Regions from separate parts of the Homo sapiens genome. Here region 2 is linked to region 1. Evidence: promoter capture Hi-C in 16 types of primary human blood cells and fetal thymus (Javierre and others, 2016). All regions are on one chromosome and are shown on one strand. Each heading gives the region's core, a stretch centred on a gene start or on the middle of the fragment in contact. The rest is flanking DNA. Distances are from core to core; before and after follow the strand shown. Region 1 holds the start of LRRC4B (leucine rich repeat containing 4B). Region 2 has its middle 2.5 kb from the start of KLK13.

Region 1 (4,287 bases), core at 1,300-3,799:
GATGAGCTCTGGAGGTTGACGGCAAATCATTTCTCCTTCAGTAAAACAGGGGCAGTCATACCCTCCAGGCAGGGCTGAGACTTAGGCTGCATGGACCAAGAGGGTTCGCTGGTTGTTCAAATATTGGAATACTTCCCTGCTTCTCTAACGGCCCCACCTGACACGGCTTGGCCTCTCACCTGAGACCCTCTTGGTTTGTTTTTTGAGACTGAGTTTCGCTCTGTCACCCAGGCTGGAGTGCAATAACGTGATCTCGGCTCACTGCAACCTCTGGAGGCCTCCCGAGTTCAAGTGATTCTCGTGCCTCAGCCTCCCGAGTAGCTGGGATTACAGGCGCGCACCACCATGCCTGGCTAATTTTTGTATTTTTAGTAGAGATGGGGTTTCACCATGTTGGCCAGGCTGGTCTCGAACTCCCGACCTCAAGTGATCCTCCCGCCTCGGCCTCACAAAGTGCTGGGATTACAGGTGCGAGCCACCATGCCCGGCCGAGACCCTCTTGTAATGAAAGGGTTAACTCAGGGCTCATCAGGGGCCTGCTCTCACCTGTGCCCACCAGGTACCACCATCCCTAGGAGTTGGTACCGCATGGTTGCAGGATTGATGCCACGCTTGTGAGGTGCTGGGCACAGCATCTGGCCTGTGGGAGACCAGGAGGAACCGCGGGCTGCCACCATGTGATTCTGTTTTGCTGGTATCACCATCGGTCCTGGCCTACTCTGTGCTGGACCCTGGTGCACACACACATTCACTGGTCCAGTCTCACGAACTAGACTTGAGCGGCGCCAGGGGCGGGTGAAACCCGAAGCACCACAGCCACCTGCCACTCCCTGGCCCTCGCCCAGCCCCTTCTCAGTTTCCCCTCTCGGCAGCTCTCAGGGCTCAGCACCCACCAGCGCCCACCCAAAACCGCCTCTTCCGAACCCATCTGTGACCTGGCTTCTCTCGGGAACCCTGGCTCATTATAGATGTGTCTGGCCCACTTTCCTTCCAGCTTCCAACCCTGACTCTCCCCAGGCTCTGCCTGCAGGGGTACAGCCACACTTTCCCTCCCTGGGGCTCTCCGAGGAGAAGGGGAAGAGGGAGAGTCTGTCCCGGGTCCCCTGGCACTGAAAGAAGGAACCTTCATCTTTCTTCTCTCTCTCCTGAGTCCTCAGTTATTAGTCAGCGTTTTGGGGGATAACAAGGCAGGGGTGAAACTTCTGTGCTAATTTTAACATCTGGAAGGATCTTCAGTGTCCTGGACAGGGGCCACCCCTCCTTCTGGGTTTCTCCGCCCCTGATTCCCGATGTCCCCCTTCCTTGGGGCCCAAGCTTTTGGGGTAGTGGACCGGGGAGGTAGAGGGGAGGGTCACGGTGACCTCCCAGAGGCCTCTGCATCTGCCCTCCCCCTCCCTGCACCCAAGATGCAGCTCAGCTTCACAGCTCTAAATGCGTCCCCAGCACCCGCTGCCAACACCTGGGGGAGGTGAGAGGAGAGTGAGTAGGGAGGCTGCAGGCTGTGCCCTCTGCCCCTCCCAGGTGCCTCCACCTGCCAAGTCTGGACCAGGGACGAAAGCTAGGAACTGACCCATTCTCCATCTCCCTCAGGGTACCCCCAGCCCAAGACTGCATTCAAACCCCATCCTGGCTCCTCCAAGAGCTCAGTGGTCTCTTCTGGAAAATGGGTTTGAAGGTTCTTCTCTTCATGAGGTGGAGGGGCGGACGAAGCGGGCATACAGCGGAGTTCAAGAAAGGCCCTCTGTCCCCTCCCCCACTCTGTCTACTCCCCGGGCTCTTGCCACCCAGTCTTGGGCCCTCAAAGCTCCAGCTCCCCAGCTTCTCTCCTCTCCCCCGAGATCTTTCTCCTCCCCCCTCCCCCCGACGGGTCCTTCCCTCCCTCTTCCATCCTCTCATCTCTGTCCCACTTAGATCCTCCTGCCTCTTCCGGGTCCTGCCAGCTTCCCCTGCTCTTCCTGACAACGCACACCGCACCCCCCATTCTTCTCCCCACAGCCCCCGCCGCCCTCCAGGCCCCTCTGTCCCCTGCAGCCCTCAAAGTTAGGCCTTCCCTACCTCCTCTTTCCCCTCACTTCCCTGCCCCTGGGCCTCTCCTGCCCATCTCTCTACCCATCTCCCCCTCCACTCCTCCTCTCCCTCCTTTCCTCTTCCTCTACCCACTCCCCCTGCCCCCCGCCCTCCCCTCCCCTTCATCCAGGACCTTATTGCAGGAGTTACCCCCTCCTCTCCCCTCCCCTCCCACACCCTCTCCCCTTTCCCTCCTCTCTCCCCTGCTCCTCCCCTTTTTCTCCCCCTCTTCTTTCTTCCACCCCCTTCCCACTTCCTTCCTTCTTTCCTCCCCTTCCCTCTTCTTTCCTCCCCCCCTTCCCCTTCCCTCCCGTCTCCCTCTCCTTTCTTCCCTCCCTCTCCCATCCTCTCCGGTTCTTCCCCCCTCTTTCCTTCCTCCCTCTCCACGCTGCCCTCCCTCCCCTCCCTCTCTCCCCCCTTCCTCTCCTCCCGGGCCTCCCTCCCTGCTCCCTCCCTCCGCCCGCCCGCTCCCACCATCATCAGTATTCCGCTCCCGTCTCCGCCGCTCTCGGCTGCTCTCGGTCGCTGCCGCACCGTCCGAGGCGGGGGCCGGGGCCGGGGCCGGGGCCTGGGGGGGGGTGGGGTGGGGGGAGAGCGGCGCCGGCGGGCCCGAGGAGGGAGGAAGGAAGGAAGGAAGGCTGGAAGGAAGGAAGCCAGGAAAGAAAGAAGGAAAGAAAGGAAGGCAAGAAGGAAGGCGGGCGGCGGGCGAGGGCGCGGGGCCGGACGGCAGGCGGGCGCGAGGCGAGGAGGCAGAGCGGCCCCCCCAGCCCCACCGCCGCCGCTGCGGAAGCCCCCTCCCCACCCAGGAGCCGGGGAGGGGGGAGAGCGCGAGAGGCTCCAGGCCCGGCCGCAGCCCCGCCCCCCGCGCCTCCCCGCAGCGGGCCTTGCACCCCAAATTCCTGAGCCTCATTGGGGGGGTCCTCCCCCCACGGGCCGGGCATGCTGCCCCCCGGAAGGAACCCCTCTCCTCGCTGTGAGTAGCCGCCAAGGGGCACGGGTCGGGGGCGGGGGCCGGAGGCGGAACCGCGGGGGGTGGGTGGGGGGCATTCGCTAATTGGGGGACAGTGGTCTTAGGCCTCCTCCGGGATGGGGGGGGATGGCAGAGGACAGGGGGCGGGGCCTAATGGGAGGCAGAAGCCGGTGGGGGAGGCGACTGGGTGGGGGTTCTCCGGGCAGGGCGAGTTCTGTGCTGTGGGGGGGGTGGTTGTCGCCGCTGCCTGGGGACAGGTTGTGGGGGGTGCGTCCGGCGGTCGCTGCGTATCCAGCTGTGGGGCTGAGGAAGTAGGCTTAGGGTGGGGGGCTCTCCGGGCGTAGGTCCGGGCCCCCCTTTCTGGGGCGGGAGTCCAGGTTCTTCCTCTCCCCATGGCCCCTCCCACCCTCCACACCGCTGCTGCTTGGGGTGGGGGGGGCACGCCAGTGATGGGGAGGGGGGAGAGGCGGGCACGGGGTTTCCTTGGTGACCGCGCCTGGCAAGAGCGGTTGCCGTGGCAACCGGGGAGAACCGGGGAGTTTGGGAAGTGAAAATGGGAAAGACGGAGGGGGTGATTGGGGAGTGAGACAACCCCCTCCCCAGTCTTCAGCCCTTCTCCCTCTGGGGTCACCCCGCCTCTCCTGGTGGGCGGCTCGGACCCCTGCCCCTCCGTCTCTCCAAGACCCCCGTTCCCTGACCCCACTAGGCTTTGGGGCCTTCTATCCTTGGGCACGTGTCTCTCCAGGACCACTGCCTCTCCCACCTCCCTCCGCCCTCCCCTCCTGGAAACCTCTCCTCCTGGAGACCCCCGCCCCCCATTTGCTGCCTCCTCCCCAGGCTTCCGACCCTCACACCTGCTCTTCTAGGACCTTCTAAGACACGGCATCTGCTCCTCAGCCTTCTCTAACCCCCATCTCTGACAATCCCCCAGATATCCCTCTCCAGACCTTCTGTCCAGGAGACCCTCACTTCAGCCGCCCTCTCCTCTAGCTCCCTCCTCCCACTCCCTCCCCGCCCCTCTTTGGGCCTTGCACCCCAGCCTCTCCCCTTTCTCCCCAACACCCCCAGTCGCCTTCTCCTTAGCCCATCACTCTCTGAAACATCCTTCTATGACCTTTCATCACCCAGAGACCCCCTCCATCGTTGTCTCCTCACCCCATAGTACTCCCCAGTCTCAGACCCCCCCAATCCTAGCTCTCTCCTTTTGGGAGCCTCTCCTTCCAACTCACCATCAATCCCGGGCTCTCAGG
Region 2 (4,287 bases), core at 1,125-3,624, 500 kb before region 1:
AAGTATTGACCAGGTAATGAAAAGGATGGTGTGAACATCCGCTGAGAAGCCCAAGACCCACAAGAGAAGTATGTTTGGAACATGGGAAGGGCAGAGAACAGAAGTTGGTTTTGAACATGGAGATGTTGAGTAGGCAGCTGGATGTTAAGTGGAGAGTTTGAGAGTCAGACCTGGCTGGAGACATAAATTTGGGAGTCGTCAACATGTAGATGGTATTTAAAGCCACGAGACCAGATGAGATCACCGAGGGAGTGAATATAGACAGAGGAGAGAAGAAGGCCAAGGACCGAAGCCTGAGGTGCTCCACCATGTAGAGACTGGGGAGACAGGAAGAAACCACCTCCAGACACGGATGAGAATCAACCAGTGAGTGATGAGGAAAACCAGGAGAGCATAGTGTCCCAGAAGCCAAGGAAAGAAACAGGGAGTAGTCCACTTGTTAAATGCTGCTGATAACTCCAGTAAGATGAACCTGAAGAGACGGCCCTTGGATTCAGTACCGTGGAGGTCACTGTTGCCCTAAACAGGGGCATGGTTGGTACAGCAATGGGAGAGAAAGCCTTCATAGTGTGGGCTCCAGGGAGGACGGGAGGACAGGAATTGCAGGCAGTGAGCTTAGCCAACTTTTTAGGGAAGGATTGCAGTTGTACAGAGCAGAAAATGGGCCAGGAGCTGAAGGAGAACATGAGAGTGGGGAGAAATTTTTGTTGGTTGGTTTTCAAATTTTAACGAGAGATGGGAGAAACTGTAGTATATTTGCATGCTAATGGGGCTGCTCCTTGGAGAAGAAGGAAAACATGTTGCAGGAAAGAGAACAGAGAACTGCTGGCTGGAGCAATGCCCTCCAGAAGGCAAGAGAGGACAGGATACCAGCACCAGTGGAGGCATCTATCTTAGCTGCAGGTGCAGACTGTTCATCTAGAGAAATGGGAGAGGAGACAGAGGATGTGGGCACGCAGGTAGGTGGCAAGACCGACCTTTCTAATTTTTGCTATTCTGATGGATGAAAGCGATGTGTTATTGCTGCCTGGGATGCATGATGACTGGAGCCACATCCTGAATAACACGGATCCAGCTCTAAAGAAGAATCCATGTTTCTCAACTCTCTGTGCCTCTTTCTCACCAAGAGTCTGCTTCTCACTGGGCATCTCTCTCTTTCTATCTCTGTGCCTCTGTCCTCTGAATTTTCTTTCTGTCCTCTCCCACCTGCCCCATCTTTCTGTCTCTGTGTATTTAGCCCTTTGTATCTCTCAGTCTTCCCCTCCCTTCATGTTTGCGTTGGGGCCCCTCCTCTGGGCCTGGGTGTGGGGCCTACTTTCTCATCCCAGCTAGCACTTCCAACCAGAAGTTCCAGTTCCTGCTTGACAAAGAATCCCATTTTGAAGCCAAGATAGGGAGGGGCCTCCTGGAACCGTCAGATGCCTCCATCTTAAGCTTTACTTATTTAACAGGAGCATTGTGGCCCTTGGTCCATGCCACACTCTCTTCGAAGCATTTTTGGGTATTAATCCAGTTAACCCTTCTCCATAAGGCAAGTGCTATTGATTGTGCCATTTTACAAATGGGGATGCTGAGGCACAGAGCAGTCACATCATCTGAACTCAGGCAGTCTAGCTCCAGAGTCTGAGGTCAGAACCACTAGGAACACCATCTCTTTTTCGGGTCCTTTCTTCTTCTTTCTCCAGCCCGGTTCTCTGTGGTGGAGGAAAGACCTGCACCTGTGACAGAAGCGCACTTGGATTTGGTCCAGTTTGTGTGTGACTTTCAGCCGTGGGCTTGTTCATCAAGTGAGGGGGTGGAAGGTGCCCAGCCCTCAGTGGGTCCATGACCTCACTTCAACCAGAGCTACCCAACCCGCGTTCGGCCAATCATAACCCCTAACATCAATTTGACCTGGCACTCACCCCTCAGCAAATAACAAGGCCAACCACCCTCACTCCAGGCTCCAGCTTTTCCCAAGTGAGAAAGGCTTCTCTGGAAGCATGGACCCAGGTCACAGGAGGGTACAAGTACCCCGATTTCCCACATAAGCTGGTTGCCGCACTTAACCTGGCATCCTACCTCCAGCCACACCACCTGAACACAATTCCACTCAAAAAGTGAACTCAGACCCCGCCCTGTGAGGTGGGAGAAGTCCAGGGTGGAGAAAGACAGTGACCTTTCTTTCACCTTGAGAGGTGGGGTATGACCCAGCTCACCCCCACCAAAACCTACTGCATCATAGACACTCAACCTCATGGCCAGTCCTCATCACCCATGTCAACCCACTACCCCAGCTCAACCACATCTTAACATTTCCCCATCCAAAACCTCAATCTTGGTTCCATCTTCAGCCCCAACCCAACAGTACCCCAACACCAACTTATCCCTAGATACCTCCCATCTTACAATCTAATCCTATCCCAAAACCAGCTCAACTACCACCTCCAACTCTATACCCATCCTCATCCAATTTTCATTCACCTCCCCAAACTCATTGCATTCCTAATGTTGTCATCAGGCCCATCCTTAACCATAGACTCTACTGATTTCCTATATTAAGCCATATTTTTCTTCTTAGCAAAATACTTTGAAATGGACCCAACATTGGACACTGAGGTGTCGCCAATGCAAAGTTAGATGGGTTATCTGATTTTATGAGGTCTCTGTACCCTTTCCTGTCTTTGAGCCACTTTATGACTCTAAATTGTAGGTATCTGAGAGCAATGCAAATAATTCTTGTCCATAAATGTTTACATGAATTTTGCCAGGTGGAAGTACAATGGATTTCCCTCCTCCTCCCAGTGTGGAATAGCCAGTTTTGCATCTATTTGTAAATTCATTTCAGCATTCCTCGTTGTCTCTGTGCATATGGCTCTTTGTAACATCTTACTGGCTCTGCCATTTATTAATGAGTCAAGATACAATCTTTGACACATGTTCATTTCATATATGTCAGAGAGTCATGGTAAGACCATGTTTTAAAAGTTACCCTTTGACACTAGATTTGATCTCCACATCCAAATCTGAACTCCATCAATAAGGACTGTACAAGTTTCCATGTGAGCCCTCGCCCCATCCATCTCTATTCTTTATCCTCATTGTGACACCTCCACTCTCTCACTCTTTCCAAACTTCATCTGGTCCACGTCCCTGGCTTTCTTCCAAATTCTGACCCCACCTCAGTCCTTAATCCCTAATCCTGTCCCCTCCACCCCCTAGGATTAACTCAGGGCTCCACCCAGTCATAGTTCCTGGAGACACCTACTCATTCTCAAAACACCACCCCTTCCTCCTTCCTCTCCCCCACCCCCAATCCACGTCTTCAAAGCTTTCCGGCTCCTGCTTTTTCCTCTCCACCTAGGTCCCCGTGGACTCCCTCACCCCCTCTGGCCCTGCTCCTAAAAGGCCATTTCTGGAAAATGTTGCTTTCTCAGGTCGCATCTCTGCCCCCATCCAAGTCCGAGGGAGCTGATTTTCTATCCACCCAGCTGATGATTTCCTTCTTGTGTCCGGTGGTTGGCGGGAGCAGGGAGGCAGGATGATGGGATAATTGTGGGTGTCCTTGTGTCTTTCAAAAGAAAAAGGGTTGAGATGAGACTGGGAATTGGAACCTGGATGTGTTGAGAGCTAAACCTGAGATGAGGTTGGAGATGGGACTGGGGTTGAGGAACAGGCTGGAGTACTTGGTATGGTTAGGGATGGATAGGGAGGTGGGAATCTGATAGAACACGGCCATCTGGGGGCTGACTGCCTATTAAGAATTATGCATGGGGTTGGAGAAGAGGTTAGAAAACTGGGTGCAGAATGGGTTGAAGTTAGGGATGGGCATGGAACTCAGCGGGGTAGGGGGAAGGAAATGGGCTTTCCCCTTACCCTTTTTTGGGTCCTGAGGCCTGAAAGTTCACAGTGGGTTCAACTCTGCCTTGGGCGGGGTCAGACCTAGGTCCCAGCACGTCCTGGAAGCTCCGCCCCAAGCAGAGGGCCAAGCCCAGGTCGGGGGTGCCTGGAGACATCCCGCTGAGCCACTGGGGGTGGAGAGGGGGAGGCCAGGGACCAGGAAATGCTGAGTGAGCTGGGGGAGGGAGTTCAGGGGTTAAAAGCCATGGTTCGGGGCTGAAGTTCTAGACAGCTGGCGGCTGACGCTCCTCGTGGGCCCCTCACTCAGGTAGGGTCTGCCTGGGGCGGGGGCGGGGAGCGGAGGAGGGCAGGGAGGGGAGAGAAGAGGGGATAGGAAGGATGGGGAAAGCAGAAGGGCAGCTGAGTCAGGGAGAGGGAGAGTGAAGCTAGAGTCTCAGATCTAGAGAG

What was found. Contacts are between HindIII fragments. The CHiCAGO score rates a contact against its expected background, and 5 or more counts as called.
Region 2: a contact is called between a fragment that was not itself captured here and the fragment with the promoter of LRRC4B in region 1, in 1 of 17 cell types (M2 macrophages). The highest score is 5.3, in M2 macrophages.

What each region holds. Positions count from the first base shown.
Region 1 is chr19:50,566,697-50,570,983 of GRCh38, reverse strand. It overlaps LRRC4B (leucine rich repeat containing 4B), which reads left to right and starts at 2,549. Exons shown (of 3, transcript NM_001080457.2): 1 at 2,549-3,040. The HindIII fragment of the contact is 11,248 bases long and covers 1,317-4,287 here.
Region 2 is chr19:51,065,498-51,069,784 of GRCh38, reverse strand. It overlaps a transcript of KLK13 not described here. Among named protein-coding and RNA genes, the nearest start is that of KLK13, 2.5 kb to the right of the region's middle. The HindIII fragment of the contact is 1,876 bases long and covers 1,437-3,312 here.